Linked DNA regions of Homo sapiens: all the other regions are linked to region 1. The links are contacts of gene promoters, found by promoter capture Hi-C in blood cells and fetal thymus (Javierre and others, 2016). All regions are on one chromosome and are shown on one strand. Each heading gives the region's core, a stretch centred on a gene start or on the middle of the fragment in contact. The rest is flanking DNA. Distances are from core to core; before and after follow the strand shown. Region 1 holds the start of CSRNP2 (cysteine and serine rich nuclear protein 2). Region 2 holds the start of BIN2 (bridging integrator 2). Region 3 overlaps BIN2 (bridging integrator 2). Region 4 overlaps BIN2 (bridging integrator 2). Region 5 overlaps SMAGP (small cell adhesion glycoprotein).

Region 1 (4,002 bases), core at 956-3,455:
AATTTCAGCAAAGAGAGATGACAAGTGCATGTTACCAAAAGATTGCTTTTTTCTGATCTACTGCTTTTTTATTTTGCAGTGTAGTGTCCTAGCTTCTTGGAGTCTCTGATGTCACCTAGGGGAGAGAACTGAAATTCTTAGCATGTTTTCCCAAGCCATCCAGCCTCTCACTTCTAAAGCTGAGATGGCTTGGTAGCTAGTGGATCTGGCTTCATAGTTTCTTGGTTGCAGTGAAAAATGTACCAGGTTTTGGAACCAGCCTAACGTGAGTTTAAATCCTGCTGTCCATCCATCTATCCAATAAATATCTATCATACTCTTAAATGTCAACTACTAGGCTTTGTACTGTGTGTTGAGGATACAGTAAACAAAACAATTCCTTGCTCTCACCGAATTTAGTCAAGTGAGACAAGACAAAAACAAATACGTGGATGCTAAGAAGAAATATAAGGCACAGGGATAGAAACTAAGGAGAAGCACCATTTTAGAAATATGGTTAGGCATTTGTGCCCGGGAGTTTGAGGCTGCTGTGAGCCGTGATTGCGCCACTGCACTCCAGCCTGGGTGACAGAGTGAAATCCTGTCTCTTAATGCAGGGAAAAAGAAATATGGTTAGGGAAGATCTCGGATATGGGGACATTCGAGCAGATATTATGTGAGGGAGTAAGTATGTGGCTAGCTGGTGGAAGCCAGACAAAAGGCCCTGAGGTAAGAGAATGATTGCCCAGTTGAAGGAGCTGCAATGAGGCCAGTGTATTCAAGCAGAGTATGGAAGGGGGAAAGTAGAAGCAAACAAGATGACAGAACAAAATGAGGGGGCGGGGTGGGGGTCGGGGGACAAGAGAATGCAGCTCGAGCTTGCCGAGCCTTATAGTTCAAGGGAAAGACAACAAAGAAGAAACCAAGGCTATGTGTCCTTGGCAAATCACATACAACTTTTGACTTCTTAATCTTGGTTTTCCCCTTTTTTTTCTTTTTCTTTTTCTTTTTTTTTTTGAGACGGAGTTTCGCTCTTGTTGACCGTGCTGGAGGGCAATGGTGCAGTCTTGGCTCACTGCAACCTCCGCCTCCCGGGTTCAAGCCATTCTCCTGGGTCGGCCTCCCGAGGAGCTGGGATTAAAGGCACGTGCTACCACCCTCGGCTAATTTTTGTATTTTTAGTAGAGACAGGGTTTCACCATGTTGGTCAGGCTGGTCTCGAACTCCTGACCTCATGACCCGCCCGCCTCGGCCTCCCAAAGTGCTGGGATTACAGGCATGAGCCACCGCGCCTGGCGCCCTTTCTTAAAAATAGGTTGCGGAAGGGCGCGGTGGCTCATGCGTATAATCCCAGCACTTTGGGAGGCCGAGGCGGGCGGATCGCCTGGGCCCAGGAGTGCAAGACCAGCCGGGGCAACATGGCGAAAACCCCTTTTCTATTTAAATAAATAAATTAGTTTGCAAAGTTGAGAAGATTTTTTTTTTTTTTTTTTTGAGACGGAGTCTCGCTCTTTCGCCCAGTCTGCAGTGCAGTGGCGCGATCTCGGCTCACTGCAAGCTCCGCCTCCCGGGTTCACGCCATTCTCCTGCCTCAGCCTCCCGAGTAGCTGGGACTACAGGCGCCCGCCACCACGCCCGGCTAATTTTTGTATTTTTTAGTAGAGACGGGGTTTCACCTTGTTAGCCAGGTTGGTCTCGATCTCCTGACCTCGTGATCCGCCCACCTCGGCCTCCCAAAGTGCTGGGATTACAGGCGTGAGCCACCGCGCCCGGCAGCAATTTTTTTTTTTTTAAAGAAAACACTCAAAGCACTCCCTCATATAAGTAGATAACTCAAGATATTGCTTGTATTCTTTATAACCTGCGCAGGCTGCAATAAGTCATATTGCTGAAGACTAAGACCCCATGAGCGAGGAGAAGGGGGGATCATGTTCCTAATGGCGTGTGGTCAGGACACGAAAGAAAAAGGGAGCTTTGGAGGAGAATTCGTTTATTTAAGATCTGTAGCTGAGTCTCCTCTCTTCCCCCATTAAAAGGTTGCAGCAGAGCTGCCGCCTCGGGAGCCGGTTTGCGCGCCGGCTTCGGCTTTGCAGCAGTTACCGCCTACAACTCCCGGCATGCTGCTGGGTGTGGGCCGGCCCGTAGACTCCATTTCCCAGCCAGCCCCGGGTCTCGGTCAGGACGTGCCGGCGCCTATAAGAGCCAGTGCGCTGCGGCCGGATCCTATTGTTAGCCGGAGCCGGGGCGGTTCTGGGCGTCTGCTGCCGGGGGCGCCCGAGTTGCCGGAGACGCCCGGCCCTCTCTGCCTGCCGGCTGGGCTGCCCACCGCCCTCCCTCCCCGCCCTGCCGCCCTGGGAGCTCCCCGGCCGTCGCCGCGGGGCCCGGGACTCGCTCGCTCCTCCCTCCTTCCCACCGGGCTAGGGCGGCGGCGGCAGCGGGGGCGGCAGAGACCATCACGGGAGGAGGCAGCTGCGGCGGGGCCGGTAATGGGCCTAGGGGTGCGGGGCGGAGGGTGCCGCCTCGTCCTTTCTCGGGATCGGCCCTCGGGCGGCCGTGGAGGAGTGGTCAAGCCCAGAGCCGTGCGGATGGAGGGGTCAGAAATGAGAGGCTCGGACGGGAGCGGTCGGGGGGCGGGGAGGTCGGGTGCCGTTGGGAAGGAACCGAGTCGGGAAGAGGCGTGGGAGCGAGGGGCACCGAGGACGCTGGCCCGGACTGCGGGGGCAGCTCGCGGGAGACCGATGGGCGGCTTGGAAGCCTGCAGGATTGCAGATGAGGATTGAGTTCGGAATGGAGTGGAGAATGATGTAGGATGGAGGAAAGTGAAGGAAGGGGAGGGGGAACAGAGGAAAATGTGGGAGGAGTGGTTGGGAATTTGTGAGTAGCAGGCAGGAAGGGATGCGGAAGGCTGGGTAGGGGCTGCAGAGGATTGGAATGAGCGGGAAGGTTAGCAGGAATCAGAGGGAAGTGGGCCGAGAGCTGAAGGGTTCGGCAGGAGTGTTCATTAAAAGGAACTGGTGACTTGACATGTCCCTTCGCTCCGGTTCCTGATGTCTCCCATATTTCTGGCGTCGTGTGGGAAAATGAAAGCATCAATTGCCCTGGTTGCTAGCTTGATCTTTTTTCATAGGCCCAATTACGCAGCCAACTGCCACCCGTCCCTTTTAGTGCTGTGGTCTTGATTCATCCTTTTAAAGGGGTTGAGAGTGGCAGTGTGACACACAAACTGTTCTTCAGAATGAAATGCTAGAAGTTATCCCCACAAGACAACACTGTCCCCTTGTCCTGCAGTTTTCAGTTCAAGGTAAATTCATAGTTCAGATTTTTTTCTTCACTGGCTTTCTGTCTTGCAAATCCACAAAGCCAGGATGTTGGTTGTGCCGGTGTTATAAATGACTGGATATCCTTGAGAGTTAATGCAGCATCATGTTCCAGTTCCCACAAAGATCTGTCTTCCACACGATGGTAGTTTAGGCATGGAAAATTCTAACCTTGTGTTAGTGAATGGGTAAAAATCGGGGAGTGGGGGTGGTGAGTGCACGGCTTTCTTTAAACACCTAACTTAAGCGGGGGGTTTTCACTTGGGTGCTTTGTAAGTTCATGATCCTGGTGATCACAAAGACACATGGATCCATGAAATTCATGGTATATGAGAAACAACCACAGTATCTTGTAAAAGGAGAAACAGGGCAGGTCATTTTATTCAGGTTTATGGTAACACAGCAGCAAGCCTTCCTTCCAACCCAGCTACAGATGGTAGCCCTGACCATCTTACTGGAGGTTTTGATTCCTTGACCTTTAGCAGAAGGTTGGGTTCCAGTCAAGTGAAGAGGCTTTCTCCTGTGAGATGTAGCTTATTACTTTGGACTCATTTAAGAAAGAGACTTATATTACCTAAACTTTGCAAATAGATTCTTCCAGAAAATTTTGCCTGGGCAGTCCCTCTTGCTGCTCTCACATATGCTGTTTTTTTTTGTTGTTGTTGTTGTTTGTTTGTTTGTTTGTTTTGGTGGTTATAGGAATCCT
Region 2 (4,002 bases), core at 1,076-3,575, 240 kb before region 1:
GTGGCTGGGTTGCATTGCTGAGGATGCCATGTAGTCCTGGCAGGGACACAGGTACTGGCCTCCTTCTGCCAGTGACACACCTGTTAGCATTGCCATCTACTCTCAGTGTTCCCGCAGTACTGCTATTCTCCATGCTTCTCCCCACTTCTCCCCATCCAATATCAAGTCCTTCTATTTTCATCACCCTGCCTCTTCCAGGGCATCACCAAAGCTAACATCCAGAATAAACCCTAATCGCCTGGCAGGGCAAGGTGGTTCACACCTGTAATCCCAGCCCTTTGGGAGGCTGAGGCGGGTGGATTGCTTGAGCTCAAGAGTTCCAGATCAGCCTGGGTAGCCAGGAGTGGTGGCATGCACGCACCTTAGTCCCAGCTACTCAGGAGGCTGAGGTGAGACCATCACTTGGGCCTGGGAGGTAGAGGCTGCAGTGAGCCCTGATGGCACTGCTGCACTCCAGCCTGGCAACAAAGCAAGACCCTGTCTCCAAACAAACAAACAAACAAACAAACCCTAATCACCTATTCCCAGAAAATTTTGTATCCATCTCTACAAATAAATTAAGCACATTACATTAGAATCACCTGATTACCCACCTATCTCCACTTCCAGACTTTAAGCATCTTTATTTATGTACTTATTTATTAATACTTATTCTTTATTGGTTGAGAAAGGGCCTCACGCTTTGCCCAGGCTGGAATGCAGTGGCACCATCAGGGCTCACTGCAGCCTCCACCTCCCTTGGCTCGGGTGATCCTCCCACCTCAGCCTCCCTGATAGCTGGGACTACAGGTGTGTGCCACCACGCCCAATTAATTTTTGTATTTTTAGCAGAGAGAAGGTCTTGCTATGTTGCGCAGGCTAGTCTCAAACTCCTGGGCTCAAGCAATCTGCCTGCCTCAGCCTCCTAAAGTGTTGGGATTACAGGTGTGAGCCGTGGTGCCCGGCCAGACTTCATTAAGCATCTTAAGGTCAGGGACTGCATTTTATTCATCCTTGTTTCAGAACACCCAGCAATGCCTGGTACACAGTTGACCTTGAGTGCAGTAATGATTGTTTTGGAGAAAGAAGAGGAACACAGTAGCATACAAGGGCCTCTAATTTTGTGTCAGGCCCTATCTTCCCCCTCCACTCCTTAGGAAGTGTTATTTTGACCTTCTTCCCTGCCTTGAGGAAATTTTAACCTGCACTGTAAAATCTGAGTACGTGGTTCCTCCACACCTAGTGTCCTAATCTCAAGCTATCCCCTCAAACAGGTCAGGGAGGAATTTTTTGGAGAACTTCTCCCTAAAGAAACAATAGTTGTCATCTCAACAGCCGCACCCCAATTTGCACAATCTGTGTCTGTGTTCACATTCTGCCTCCATCCAGTACACTGTACTCCAACTAGAAAAACTTGCTCCTCATGCTCAGCACGGGCGTCCATACTATCCTCCTCAGCCTTTTTTCAATGTGATCATTCTCTTGCCTAAGAACCAGCCCCCTACCCTGTTTCTATCTCCAGCTTAGTTGTTCCTCATTTATTTATTTATTTATTTATTTATTTATTTATTTATTTGAGACGAACTGTCGCTCTGTCGCCCAGGCTGGAATGCAGTGGCGCGATTTCGGCTCACTGCAACCTCTGCCTCCCGGGTTCAAACAATTCTCCTGCGTCATCCTCTCGAGTAGCTGGGACTGCAGGCGTGCGCCACCACACCCAGCTAATTTTTGTATTTTTAGTAGCGACGCGGTTTCACCGTATTGGTCAGGCTGATCTCCTAACCTCAGGCGATCCACCCGCCTCGGCCTCCCAAAGTGCTAGGATTACAGGCGTGAGCCACCGCGCCCGGCCTGTTTCTCTCTTTCAAGCCCGGCTCGGGTGTCCTGCCTGCTTTCTGCACTCTATCCCTACCAGTTCCAGGCTTAGAGCCTACCTGGAGCAAGAAACGCAGTGTACATGGCGGCTTCGCATGCATACTCAGAGAACCTAAACGTGTTTTCGATATGGTAGGTCCTCTCGCTGAGTGGAACCCACATCATTTTCTACCCTGCGGTGGCAGTTGCTTTGCAGTGCTCAGCGTGATGGGAACTGGCTTTCCGGAGCGAGTGAGTGTGGGCCCACCACTGAGGACCTGGTTCAGTGAGGCCGAGGTTTCGGGCAGGGGTTGGAGCTCGGAAGCTGGCCTCGAGCGAGCGCTGCCTGAGGGTAGGCCCCGGGCCCGCCCCTCCGAGCCGGCCTGCTCCAGCTGACAGTGGTGGGCTGAGGGGCGGGCCTCAGGGCTGGCCAGGGGCGGCCTGAGGTGGCTCAGGGCTGGGGCCGGATGCGAGGCATGCCGGGAGCCCGCACTTCCTCCTCGGGGGCCTCAGAAAACCACAGGGCGCGGGGCCAGGGCGGCGGCCCCCAGGGAGTTGGCAGGATGGCAGAGGGCAAGGCAGGCGGCGCGGCCGGCCTCTTCGCCAAGCAGGTGCAGAAGAAGTTTAGCAGGGCCCAGGAGAAGGTAGGTGGCCGGGCCTCGCTGTCTGTCTGGCCCACAGGGAGCCGAGGCCGAGGCCGAGCCCGGCCGGGCAGGAGGGGCGGGCAGGGTGCTCAGGGGCCCCGAAGGGTCTGGGCTGACGAGAAGGGTCTCCCGCTCTCCCAGGGAAACGGGAGCGAGGAGTGGGCTTCCATGAAAACTGGCAGATTGGAGAGAGGTCGGAGACCGCCACCCGATCTTGGGCAAGGATAAGGGAAGCTGGGGAGACAACAGTCTCTGGGCAGAACCTTCGACAACCCTCAGGCTGACCCAGAAAAGGTGAAAGAAAGGAAGTGATGGTGGTGGCCACCTTTGTATCAAATTTTGTGCTAGCAATCCAAAATTGGTATTTTACAGATGATGAAATTGGAGGGTAATTTTCCATAGAGGGCAATTTCCCCAAAAACAGCGATGCAGCGGATGCCAGCAGGCACCCCCCACCAAAGGCTTAGAATAATCCTGCATAGTTCTCCCCCTACCTGACCCTGCCTGGCCTCTGGGTGGTGTTTCAGCTGACGTAAGCAGGAGCCCAAATCTGCTTCTTCTACCCTCCCTTTGGCGTTGGGGAGTACACCTCCCAGGGTGATGAACCACATCTGTGTTCAGAGTGTGTCCTTGGTTAGTGTCAGGTAGCCCTGCTCCAGCACTGGCACTTAGGTGGGCTGCCCATCTATTACTTGCTTGGCAATCTAAATTGTGGGGACATTCTCTACACATTTTGATGGCATTTTTGTTTCTACCTGTACAGAATATTTTCTTTGCTTCTAACCTGAGCCTCTGCTCTCCACCTACCAACCCTCTAGTAGACAAGGCGGTTTGGGAAGACATGTCAGCCAGAAGAAAGAGCGAGGGAAGAAAGACAAGAAGGACCTGAGATAGAGTTTCGGTTTTCCTTTTTTTCTCTCTCTCTTTATTAAGCCCAACCTGCCTTCTACAACGGAGAAGTTTTGGTTTTCTAAGAGCTGATGGACTTAGAAGCATTTGGATGAACAGCTCTGCTTACCAACTGAAATATCCCTATTATCTTCTAAAAGTGGAGCACTGCTTTGAGCCCTGGGAAGGCTTAAAGGCAACCAGCTCTCCCGAGTTGATTTATCAGCAGAAAACTGATGGAATGTAGATGTAGCTCCTGACTTTAAGAGACCACAATGGAAGGGAGGTTATTTTCTATCATTTGAGGTCATGTGAAAGAGAGGAGGAAAAGGGAAAGAGTTCGTGTAGCCAGACTTCGTTACTTCACTTACCCTAACTTCACCTTGATCCTAGTTTCAGCCTCTCTGAAGACTTACAAATCTGGTAGACCCGAGAGCAGGGCCTATGGGAAGGTCTAGCTCGAAACAGTGTGGGCGAGCAGGAGGTACTGGAGAGAAGGCCACACTGTGGTTGAAAAAAAAAAAAACCCTAAAAGACAAAACACTCATGAATGATAGTAATTTTAAAAAGACATACCAGCCAGGCACAGTGGCTCACTCCTGTAATCCCAGCACTTTGGGAGGCCAAGGTGGGAGGA
Region 3 (4,002 bases), core at 604-3,103, 220 kb before region 1:
ACATGCTTTTGAAATTCTCTTTTTGGTAAATACATTTAACAAACATTTTATGAGCACCTGCTGTGTGCCAGGAACTGTGTTTGGTGCTGGGACTTCAGCATGAATGAGACAACCTGCCTGCCCTCAAGGCTCTTAGTTTATGGAGGAAGACAGTGACAATACAGTCACGTCTGACCTGGGGACCTGGGGTGGCAAAGACACACAGGAGGAAAAAGGACAAGGTCAAGGATTTTTTTTCTTTTTGTGAAGACGAGGTCTCACTATGTTGCCCAGGCTGGTCTCAAACTCCTAGGCTCAAGCAATCCTCCTGCCTCTGACTCCTTGAGTGCTGGGATTACAGGTGTGAGTGAAGTGTTCCAGAAGTTGAACGGGTTGGTCATGTGCCCTATCCCTCACCCACAGTCAGCTTGCAGGTAAACTTTTTATTAATAGCTTATCCTATCAATACCAAACTTCCTAGCCTGATTTCAAAGTCTTGCCATTCGCCCACATTCCTGATCACATTTCTTTTCTTTTTTGTTTTTGTTGTTGTTTTGTATTTTTAGTAGAGACGGGGTTTCACCATGTTGGCCAGGCTGGTCTCAAACTCCTGACCTCAAGTGATCTACCCACCTCGGCTTCCCAAAGTGCTCGGATTACAGGCATGAGCCACTGCACCCAGCCCTGATCACATTTCTTCTATAGGTAATTTTTCTCTGAGGCTCTACTTGCTTCCTGCTTTTCCTTCTCTTCAGTGTATTACATAGGAAGGATTATTTTCCTCAAGCAACACTTTAACCTGTTATTTTTGGTAGTGACAGCTGCTTCCAATTCATTACCTTTAAACTCAAATCTAATAATCTAGCTTCGTATTTCCCTCCTAGATCTACATTAAACCAAGCACTTTCAACACTTGATCACTTCAACACTTGGGCATGCTATTTACACTTGTTTTGCTGAGTGTCTGAGCCAATTTTTCTCCAGAAAGTAGGGAACCCCAGGACAAGAACTTTCTCCATCCTCAGTACCCCAGTCTCTTAAGACCTAGCTCTGTCCTCCTGACTGCTCAGGACAAGCTTCTGGTGTGAGTGGTTCATTAACTGAGGGTTGGGACTGTTTGTATAATGGGTGGGAAGGACTGACTCAGACTCTTTATGGCAATGCCAAGAATTCGGCAAGGATTCAGAGAGCAGAAGTGATAAAGTCATAAGATTTAGAGCTAGAACTGGCTTACCCTGCATTTATAGATGAAGAAATGGAAGGCAGAGAAGTGGAGTAACTTGCTAGTTGGTGGTAAAGTCAAGTTTCTTGACTCCCAGACAAGCGAGAACCCAAGACTATGAGAGTCACATCTGTCAGGAAAGGAGAAAGATGTTGGGATTATTCAGCCTGGATATATTCCAGGGGGGGACAGATAGGTCAGAGAAAGAAAATGATACCTGTTGCTGACCTGTCTTCTCTCTCCTTCCCCACTCCATACCACTACCCCCACCAACACACACACACACTCACTCTCACACTCATACTTCATCTTCGCAAAAGAAAGAGCAAGAGCATAAAGGAGAACTTTGTAACTAAAAGGCTTCATTCTAAAACACAGAAATGGAGCGGGGCTTTTGTGAGCTGCAGTGGAAAGCAGAAGGCATTCATTTTCTGGGCTGTGATAGAGTACCCCCTAGTTTTCAACACTGTGCATTTATGCATGGTAGCCTTGATTACTCATCTGATTTTTCAGGTTATATGATAACTAATGGGAAAAAATTAGGAACTTTATTTGTACAAATTGTGCAAGGTAATTTTTTTTTTTTTTGAGACGGAGTTTCTCTCTTGTCGCCCAGGTTGGAGTGCAGTGGTGTAATCCCAGCTCACTGCAACCTCTGTGCCCCCGGGTTCAAGCGATTCTCCTGCCTCAGCCTCCTAAGTAGCTGGGATTACAGGCGTATACTACCACACCCAGCTAATTTTTGTATTTTTAGTAGAGATGGGGTTTCACCATGTTGGCCAGGCTGGTCTTGAACTCCTGACCTCAGGTGATCTACCTGCCTCGGCCTCCCAAAGTGGTGGGATTATAGTGGGTGAGCCACCGCTCCCAGCCTGTGCAAGGTAATTTAACAGTTTTTATTACTTTATTGTATTTATTTTTGAAATAAAATTTTCATGGTGAAGTAAAAAATTGAGTCCTTTTTTCTCCTTCAAGAAAGAATTTAAAAGTCTTGTTAATTTTTTTTTTTTTTTTTTGAGTCAGAGTCTCACTCTGTCGCCCAGGCTAGAGTACGGTGTCGCGATCTCAGCTCACTGTAACCTCCACCTCCCGGGTTCAAGCCATTCTCCTGCCTCAGCCTCCCAAGTAGCTGGTATTACAGGCGTGTGCCACCACACCCAGCTAATTTTTGTGTTTTTAGTAGAGACAGGGTTTCACCATGTTGGCCAGTCTGGTCTCGATCTCTTGACCTCACAATCTGCCCGCCTCGGCCTCCCAAAGTGCTAGGATTACAGGCGTGCATCACTGTGCCCGGCCAAGCCTTGTTCATTTTTATAATCCCCAAAACTTTTTCAAGGCTCTTTAAAATCTTGATTATCACCTTTTCAAAATTCTCAAACCTCTACCTACCTCCCTTATCCACATTTAAAAGATGTTGTATACATTTAACATGTTAGGCTATCTAAGCTTTTTTCTATAAATGAAAAAGCAAGGAGGAAGTGAGATATCCTTTCTGGTAGATGCTGAGTGTTTCTGAATTTTGTTAACTGACTGAATCTGTCTCCAATATGCTATTGAAAGTGCTTTCTCATGGTCACCAGTGACCCATTACCAAATCCAGTGAATTTTACCAATTCTTCCTGCATTCTAACGTCTCTGTAGCATCTGACACTTCCTTGATTGGTTTTGATTTTTAGACAGAGTCTGCTGTGTCGCCCAGGCTGCAGTGCAATGGCGCAATTGCAGCTCACTGCAGCCTCCACCTTCCGGGTGCAAGTGATTCTCCTGCCTCAGCCTCCCGAGTAGTTGGGATTACTGGCACCCACCACCACACCTGGCTAATTTTTGTATCTTTAGTGGAGACGGACTTTCACCATGTTGGCCAGGCTGGTCTTGAACTCCTGACCTCAAGTGATCTGCCTACCTCAACCTCCCAAAATGCTAGGATTACAGATTTGAGCTACCTCGCCTGGCCTACTTCCTTGATTGTTTATATGATGTTCTCTTAATCCTCATTTGCTGTAACACAGCACACAATCACAGTTCTGTACCTGTCTGACAGTGCCTTTCACTCCTTTAAGACTGTGTCCTCATGTCCCTTCAAACTGACATTCAGCCCCTTGAGAGGGACTTTTGATCTGAAGTTTGATCAAAAGTTTGGACTAGCTTAGAAGTGAGCTCTGAGACCCAGCACAGTGGCTCACACCTGTAATCCCAGCACTTTGGGAGGCCGAGGTGGGCAGATCACGAGGCCAGGAGATCGAGACCATCCTGGCTAACACAGTGAAACCCTGTCTCTACTAAAAATACAAAAAATTAGCCAGGCGTGGTGGCACACACCTGTAGTCCTAGCTATGCAGGAGGCTGAGGCAGGAGAATTGTCGCTTGAACCCAGGAGGCGGAGGTTGCAGTGAGCCAAGATCACGCCACTGCACTCCAGCCTGGGCGACAGAGCGAGACTCCATCTCAAAAAAAAAAAAAAAAAAAAAAAAAGAAAGAAAACAGTGAGCTCTGGAGGCAAAAAAAATGGATGAAATAACTAGTCCAGTTTTCTTTGATTTGACCAAGTAGACCTAAATTTTCTGCTGCTAAAATTAAGTAAATAGTGACCTTTCCCCAAAGATTTCCACAGGAAAAATTTTGTCACTAGATAGAATTTTCTGAATTTTCCTTTTTTTCTCATTTTTTTTTTTTTTGAGATGGAGTTTCATTCTGTTGCCCAGGGTGGAGTACAGTGGTGCGATCTCGGCTCACTGCAACCTCTGCCTCCTGGGTTCAAGTGATTCTCCTGCCTCAGCCTCCTGAGTAGCTGAGATTACAGG
Region 4 (4,002 bases), core at 430-2,929, 210 kb before region 1:
CTCAGCAACTGAAGATCTGGCACCTGATGCAGCCCAAGGGGAAGACAATTCTGAGATCAAGGAGCTCTTAGAAGAGGAGGAAATAGAGAAGGAAGGATCTGAAGCAAGCTCCTCTGAGGAAGATGAGCCTCTACCAGCCTGCAATGGCCCCGCCCAGGCCCAGCCCTCTCCTACCACTGAAAGGGCCAAGTCCCAGGAGGAAGTTCTCCCCAGCTCCACAACTCCATCACCAGGCGGAGCCCTGAGCCCTTCAGGGCAGCCTTCATCATCTGCCACAGAAGTAGTCCTCCGAACCCGCACCGCAAGTGAAGGATCTGAACAACCAAAGAAGAGAGCCTCTATCCAGAGGACCTCAGCACCCCCTAGTAGGCCTCCTCCACCCAGAGCCACTGCAAGCCCCAGGCCCTCCTCAGGGAACATACCTTCCAGCCCTACAGCCTCTGGAGGGGGTTCACCCACCAGCCCTAGGGCCTCCTTGGGGACTGGGACTGCAAGTCCTAGGACCTCCCTAGAGGTCTCTCCTAATCCAGAACCACCAGAGAAGCCAGTAAGAACTCCTGAGGCCAAAGAAAATGAAAACATCCACAATCAGAACCCTGAAGAACTTTGTACTTCCCCCACCTTAATGACATCTCAGGTAAGAGTAGTTCTGGTTGGGTATTTAATTTAATTAATTTATTTATTTAAGCTAGGGTCTCACTCAGGCGTCCAGGCTGGAGTGTAGTGGTGCGATCACAGCTCATTGCAGTCTCGACCTCTCAAGCTCAAGTGATCCTCTGCCAACAGAGATAGGGTCTCCTTATGTTGCCCAGACTGGTCTTGAATTCCTGGCCTCAAGTGATCCTCCTGTCTTGGCCTCCCAAAGTGCTGAGATTACAGATGTGAGCCACTGCACCCGGCTCTGGTAGGGTCTTTATATCCTTTTATAACCTCCATGTAGGTATCTTTACTATAGTCAGAATACTCTTGGACACCTTTTTTGGTTTTGGGGATTGTTTCATGTCTTCATAGCTATTAATTTAGTAATCTACTTTTAGGGTAATTGACTTTTTTTTGTTTGTTTGTTTGTTTGCTTTTTTGAGATGGAGTCTCGCTCTGTCACCCAGGCTGGGGTGCAGTCATGCAATCTTGGCTCTCTGCAACTTCTGCCTCCTGGGTTCAAGTGATTCTCCTGCCTCAGCCTCCAGAGTAGCTGGGATTACAGGTGCACGCCACCACACCCGGCTAATTTTTGTATTTTTAGTAGAGACGGGGTTTCTCCATGTTTATTTTTTGTTTTGTTTTGTTTTGTTTTTGAGACGGAGTCTCGCTCTGTCGCCCAGGATGGAGTGCAGTGGCACGATCTCTGCTCACTGCAAGCTCCGCCTCCCGGGTTCACACCATTTTCCTGCCTCAGCCTCCCGAGTAGCTGGGACTACGGGTGCCGGCCACCATGCCTGGCTAATTTTTTGTATTTTTAGTAGAGATGGGGTTTCACTGTGTTAGTCAGGATGGTCTCGATCTCCTGACCTTGTGATCTACCCGCCTCAGCCTCCCAAAGTGCTGGGATTACAGGGGTGAGCCACCTCGCCCAGCTGGTTTCTCCAAGTTGGGCAGGCTGGTGCCGAACTCCTGACCTCGTGATCCGCCTGCCTCGGCCTCCCAAAGTGCTGGGATTACAGGCGTGAGCCACCTCGCCCAGCCAGTAATTGACTTCTATAAGGGGCTTATCTCTAGTAGTGTTAATGAGCAGATTCTTACTAATTTCTTTCTTTTCCTCCAAGTTCTGGGAGTTCCTAGTATAAAGAACCTTTAGTTGAAGCCGGGCGTCGTGTCTCACACCTGTAATTCCAGCACTTTGGGAGGCCAAGGCAGGCAGATCACTTGAGGCCAGGAGTTCGAGACCAGCCTGGCCAACCAACATGGTGAAACCCTGTCTCCATTAAAAATACAAAAATTAGCCAGGCATGGTGGTGTCTGTAGTCTCAGCTACTTGGAAGGCCTGAGGCACAAGAACATGAGAATCACTTGAACCCAGGAGGCAGACGTTGCAGTAAGCCGACATCACATCACTGCACTCCAGCCTGGGCAACAGAGTGAGACTGTGTCTCAAAGAAAAGAAAAAGAAAAAGTTAAAAAAAAATTAATACAAAATAAAATAAATAAATAAATAAATAATAAATTCAAAAAAATAAAGGACCAATAGTTGGAATCCTGAGCTTTACCTTCTTTAGTGGGGGCAGGAGGGTGGGTCTCACTTCAGTTCATTATACCTGTGACTATGGTAAATAGACCCTGAAAAAAAATGGCAGCAAATTTCCAGGGTGTGTCTTCTCTGATGAGAAGACCTAGAAGCAGGAACTCACAGAGGGAAGTAAAGCAAAAAGGACAGCCTTTTGAAAAGGCTGCTCCTTACTTGGGAGGCTGAGACAGGAGGATTGCTTGAGCTTATGAGGTCGAGGCTGCAGTGAGCACTACTACACTCCAGCCTGGGCACCAGAGTGAGACCCTATCTCAAAAAAAAATTTTTAAGTCTTGAAAAAAAATTGAGAGATGCCAACCCATTGAAGAGCAACTAGTTCTGTGAAGGATCTGTAAATCAAGTCATACTCTTTTTTTTCTTTCTTTCTTTTGAGACAGGGTCTCACTCTGTCACCCAGGCTGGAGTGCAATGGCATGATCATGACTCACTGCAGCCTTGACCTCTCTGGGCCCCAGTGATCTTCCCTCCTTAGCCTCCCACGTAGCTGGTACTACAGGCGCATGCCACCATGCCTGCCTCATTTTTGTATTTTTGGTAGAGATGGGGTTTCGCCATGTTGCCCAGGCTGGTTTCAAACTCCTGGGCTCCAGTGGTCCTCCCATCTCCGCCTCCCAAAGTGCTGGGCTTACAGGTGTGAGCCACCGTGCCCGGCCTCAAGTCATATTCTAGTCACATTATATGGAAAGACTATCATATAGGGATTTGACTTGTTCTGTGACACTCCAGAGGGCAGAGGCAGAAACTACATATAAAGACTTTTTTTTAAGATACATTTTGGAACAATACAAGAGGAACTTTCAACAATTAGCTCAATTTTTTAAATGGGATGGGAAAAAAGTATTGTGGAAGGGCAAAGGAGACACAAGGGGCTGATCAAAAAAAATATGGGATGGGCCGCCTTGAAAATTAGTTCTCTTTCCTTGATGTTAAGAGCTAAGGGCCGGGCGCAGTGGCTCACGCCTGTAATCCCAGCACTTCGGGAGGCTGAGGTGGGCGGATCATGAGGTCAGGAGATCGAGACCATCCTGGCCAACATGGTGAAACCCCGTCTCTACTAAAAATACAAAAAGTTTGTTGGGCATGGTGGTGTGTGCCGTAATCCCAGCTACTCGGGAGGCTGAGGCAGGAGAATCGCTTGAACCCAGGAGGCAGAAGTTGCAGTAAGCCAAGATTGTGCCACGTTGCACTCCAGCCTGGCAACAGAGCAAGACCCTGTCTCAAAAAAAAAAAAAAAGATCTAGGATAGATTATCTCCAGTCAGGTACATTGTAGAGAGGATTATGGTGAAATGTCTGACTAGATGGCAACAAGATTTATTCATTCTACAATTACTTACTGAGCCCCTACAGTGTGCCTGGGACTTTTCTAGGAGGTGGGGTATGACAGTGAACAAAACAAAATACCCTGCCTTCCTGAGGCTTATATTTTAGTGCGGAAGACAGACAAAAAAAAAGAATAAATAAAATTACAATCTAGTAATGATAAGTGATATGAAGAAAAATTAAGTAGGGAAGGACACAGGGAGTGGGAGCTGAGTTGCAAGTTTATAGAGCAGTCAGCGGTGACATGTGAGCAATGAAGAAGGCTAGCACATGAGCCATGTGTATATCCGGGAGAAGTGTGTGAGATTTCTGACACTCGTTAGATCACACCACCCTACTACTGCCTGTGTCTGACCAAGGCTACCTCGGGAGCCTCCTGATATCTGAGAGGAGCTAATATGGACCAAGGGCACAGGGATGGCCCCCAGGTGGAAGGTG
Region 5 (4,002 bases), core at 500-2,999, 180 kb before region 1:
TTAGAACCTTGGCAAGGGGGAGCTGTTTACATTTTTTAAATTTTATTATTATTATTTTTGAGACCAAGTCTTGCTGTGTCACCCAGGCTGGAGTACAGTGGCTTAATTTCGGTTCACTGCAACCTCCGCCCCCTGGGTTCAAGCAATTCTCCCACCTTAGTCTCCCTAGTAGCTGGAATTACAGGCGTGCGCTACCACGCCTGGCTAATTTGTATACTTTTAGTGGAGACAGGGTTTCGCCATGTTGGCCAGGCTGGTCTCAAACTCCTGGCCTCAAGTGATCTGCCCTTCTCGGCCTCCCAAAGTGCTGGGATTACAGGCTCATGCCATTTTTTCTTTTTTAAAATTTATGGTAAAATAAACATAGTACAGGTATTACCATTTTAGCCATTTTTTCGCAGACAATTCAGTGGTAGAGTAGTCCCCGCTTATCCACAGGGGATTCATTCCAAAAACCCCAGTGGATGCCTGAAATCTCAGATAGTACTGAACCCCATCTATACTGTGTTTTTTCCTGTACATACATACTTATGATAAAGCTTAACTTGTAAATTAGGCACAGTAAGAGATTAACAATAATAATAAAATAGAACAACTATAACAATATACTGTAATAAGAGTTATGTGAAAATGGTCTCTCTCACTTAAAATGTCTTATTTACTATAGATCTTAGAAACCTCAGTACACAGTTCTTTTTTTTTTTTTCTTAAGTCAAGAACTTTCACCTTTTCACTTAAAGGAAGCACTTCTTGTTGGCATGTCCAAATTGCATCACTATTCTTGTGCTTTGGGGCCACTGTCATGTAAAATAAGGGTTACTTGAACACAAGCGCTGTGGTACTCTACTAAGCGTTTATAGCATGGACACAAAAGGATGATTCACTTTCCAGGCAGGATGGAGCAGGGTGTGAGATTTCATCACGCTACTCAGAACGGTACATAATTTAAAATGTATGAATTGTTCCTTTCTGGAATTTTCTTTTTCTGTTAAATTTCTATTTAATGTTTTCGGACTGCAGTTGACCACGGGTAACTGAAACCTAGGAAAGCAAAACCGCAGATAAGAGGGGACTACTGTTGTTTTTTTTTTTTGAGACGGAGTCTCGCTCTGTCACCCAGGCTGGAGTGCAGTAGCGCCATCTCAGCTCACTGCAAGCTCCGCCTCATGGGTTCACGCCATTCTCCTGTCTTAGCTTCCCGAGTAGCTGGGACTACAGGCGCCCACCACCACGCCCGGCTAATTTTTTGTATTTTTAGTAGAGACGGGGTTTCACCGTGTTAGCCAGGATGGTCTTGATCTCCTGACCTCGTGATCCGCCCACCTCGGCCTCCCAAAGTGCTGGGATTACAGGCCAGTGCCTGGCCTGGGGGGACTACTGTATTAAGTAATTCATGTTCCTCACCACCATCCATCTCCAGAACTTTACCTTCCCAAACCGAAACTTGACACCCATTAAACACTGATTCCCCATTTCCCTGCAAACACCGTTCTATTTTCTGTCTATGTAAATTTGACTGCTCTAGGTACTTCATGTAAGTAGAATCATACAATAGACCTTTTGTGTCTGGCTAACTTCACTTAGCATAATATTCTCAAAGTTCATCCATATTGTAGCATGTCACAATTTCCTACTTTTTCAAGGCTGAATAATATTGTTGTATGTGTATATTACATTTTGTTTATCCATTCATCTATGATGGACAGTTGAGTTGCTTCCACCTTTTGGCTATTGTGACTGATGCTGCCATAAACATGGGTGTACAAATATCTTCTTGAGACCCTGCTTTCAGTTGTTTGGGATGTATGCTCAGAAGTGGAATTGCTATATCATGTGGTAATTCTGTGTTTGATTTTTTTGAGGATCCACCATATAGGTTTGCACAGCAGCTGCACCATTTTATATTCCTACCAGCAATGCATAAAGGTTTCAGTTTCTCTACAACCTTGCCAACACTTGTTACTTTCTGTTTAATGGTAGTCATCATATTGTGTGTGAAGTGGTATCTCATTGTGGTTTTGATTTGCATTTCCCTAGTGATAGTGATGTGGAGCATCTTTTCATGTACTTATTGACCATTTGTATATCTTTGGAGAAATGTCTATTCAAGTCTTGTCCCATTTTTTAGTTGATTTGTTTTGTTCTTGTTCAGTTGTATATTTATATCCTTTAAAAATTTTTTTTAAAAAATTGATCGTTGAATCAGTCCTCTCTCTCTTTCTCTTTTTTTTTTTTTTTTTCTGGCGATGGAGTCTTGCTCTGTCACCCAGGCTGGATTGCAGTGGCACCATCTCGGCTCACTGCAACCTCCACCTCCCGGGTTCAAGCAATTCTCCTGCCTCAACCTCCTGAGTAGCTGGGATTACAGGCACACGCTGCCACACCCGGCTAATTTTTTGTATTTTAGTAGAGACGGGGTTTCACCATGTTGCCCAGGCTGGTCTCAAACTCCTGAGCTCAGGCAATCCGCCTGCCTTGGCCTCCCAAAGTACTAGGATTACAGGCATGAGCCACTGTGCCTGACCTTTTTTTTTTTTTTTTTTTTTTAAGAGATGGGATCTTACTCTGTTGCCCAGGCTGGAGTGCAGTGGCACAATCCTGGCTCACTACAGACCCAAACATCTGGGCTTGAGGGATCCTCCCACCTCAGACTCCTGAGCAGCTGGGACTGCAGGCGTGCACCATCACGCCCAGCTAATTTTAAAATTTTTTGTAGAGATAGGGTTTTGCTATGTTGCTCAGGCAACTCTCCCGGCCTGAAGCCATGCTCCTTCCTCTGCCCCTGAGTTGTTGAGATTATAGGCGCAAGCCACCTCACCTGGCTGCATTCTTGATCCAGCGAGTGACATGAGTGAAGTAGTGATTTAGGACAGTCTCCTATCCACTGGGTCCAAGCAAGTGTAAGTTCAGAGACAGCAATAGACAAAAGAATAGAAATCACAGATAGGAAGAAAGCTTATACTTTAAATGATGGGATCACTAAAGGCCAGCTCTTCTCTTCTACCCCTGTCTTGCATTTCTCTTCCCCCACCTTCCCACCTATTCCTCCCTCACAGTCTATAAAGACTTCCTAGAGAAGATATCCTCCAGGAACCTTGAAAGGAAGGGCCACATTATGACTCCTGAGCCCTGGGCACTTCTGTCTTTGTGGGCTCCTCCTTCACTTAAAAAAATATTAAAAATCATATTTTACAACTGCATCAGTGTAAGGAAGAATATAATATAATATAATTAATATTTATAATTAGTAATTGAATGGCATAACAACCTTAATATTTCTTTGACCTAAAATTTTGTTTCTTTTCCTTCTTCTAATTATAAAAGAAATGAAAATTATTTAAAACATTTTCATGGGCCTTTCGAAGCATTGTGGGCCCAGGGCACTGTGCCTGTTGTGCCTAGTGCATAAGTCAGCCCTATTCGAAGTAGGGCAGAGTGGAACTGTGCCTTGTGGGCTTTGCCCACCGTGCCAGGTAAAGCTCATCTCTTGCCACCAAATGATCACACCAGCTACCGCCTAGGTTGTCCTCACCCTGTATTAGACACTTAGCATTTTTCTTTATTTTATTTTAAAAATAATTTTTTGTAGAAATAAGGTCTTACTGTGTTGCCCAGTCTGGTCTCAAACTCCTGGCCTCAGGTGATCCTCCCATCTCAGCCTCCCAAAGCAGCATTTTTCATTGCACTTATTCCTCACCACAACCCAATGAAACAAGTTTTAGTCTCATTTTACGGAAGGAAAAACTGAAGTTCAGGGGAGTTAAGGAATTTTCTTTTCTTTTTTTTTTTTTGAGATGGAATTTCCCACTTGTCACCCAGGCTGGAGTGTAGTGGTGCAATCTCGGCTAACTGCAACCTCTGCCTCCCGGGTTCAAGCAATTTTCCTGCCTCAGCCTCCCGAGTAGCTGGGACTATAGGCGCCCACCACTATGCCCAGCTAATTTTTGTATTTTTAGTAGAGACAGGGTTTCACCATGTTGGCCAGACTGGTCTCGAACTTCT

What was found. The method cuts DNA at HindIII sites, captures the fragments that hold promoters and counts their contacts. A CHiCAGO score of 5 or more calls a contact.
Region 2: the fragment with the promoter of BIN2 here is called in contact with the fragment with the promoter of CSRNP2 in region 1 in 1 of 17 cell types (M2 macrophages); the score reaches 5.3 in M2 macrophages.
Region 3: a fragment that was not itself captured here is called in contact with the fragment with the promoter of CSRNP2 in region 1 in 3 of 17 cell types (endothelial precursors, megakaryocytes and M1 macrophages); the score reaches 6.5 in endothelial precursors.
Region 4: a contact is called between a fragment that was not itself captured here and the fragment with the promoter of CSRNP2 in region 1, in 1 of 17 cell types (M1 macrophages). The highest score is 5.3, in M1 macrophages.
Region 5: a fragment that was not itself captured here is called in contact with the fragment with the promoter of CSRNP2 in region 1 in 4 of 17 cell types (megakaryocytes, erythroblasts, M1 macrophages and 1 more); the score reaches 8.6 in megakaryocytes.

The regions. Positions count from the first base shown.
Region 1 is chr12:51,081,799-51,085,800 of GRCh38, reverse strand. It overlaps CSRNP2 (cysteine and serine rich nuclear protein 2), which reads left to right and starts at 2,205. Exons shown (of 5, transcript NM_030809.3): 1 at 2,205-2,462. RefSeq lists an enhancer at 1,154-1,780 and a silencer at 2,154-2,643. The HindIII fragment of the contact is 4,493 bases long and covers 1-4,002 here.
Region 2 is chr12:51,322,497-51,326,498 of GRCh38, reverse strand. BIN2 (bridging integrator 2) reads left to right here and starts at 2,325. Exons shown (of 13, transcript NM_016293.4): 1 at 2,325-2,477. The coding sequence starts at 2,397. LOC105369767 (a long non-coding RNA gene) reads left to right here and starts at 2,491. Exons shown (of 2, transcript XR_944957.3): 1 at 2,491-2,771; 2 at 3,296-4,002. RefSeq lists a silencer at 2,090-2,579 and an enhancer at 2,610-2,799. The HindIII fragment of the contact is 11,893 bases long and covers 1-4,002 here.
Region 3 is chr12:51,305,498-51,309,499 of GRCh38, reverse strand. The region is part of intron 2 of BIN2 (bridging integrator 2); the gene reads left to right. Among named protein-coding and RNA genes, the nearest start is that of BIN2, 17 kb to the left of the region's middle. The HindIII fragment of the contact is 1,592 bases long and covers 1,058-2,649 here.
Region 4 is chr12:51,288,226-51,292,227 of GRCh38, reverse strand. It overlaps BIN2 (bridging integrator 2), which reads left to right. Exons shown (of 13, transcript NM_016293.4): 10 at 1-637. Among named protein-coding and RNA genes, the nearest start is that of SMAGP, 20 kb to the right of the region's middle. The HindIII fragment of the contact is 4,839 bases long and covers 1-4,002 here.
Region 5 is chr12:51,263,173-51,267,174 of GRCh38, reverse strand. The region is part of intron 2 of SMAGP (small cell adhesion glycoprotein); the gene reads left to right. Among named protein-coding and RNA genes, the nearest start is that of SMAGP, 5.2 kb to the left of the region's middle. The HindIII fragment of the contact is 2,416 bases long and covers 542-2,957 here.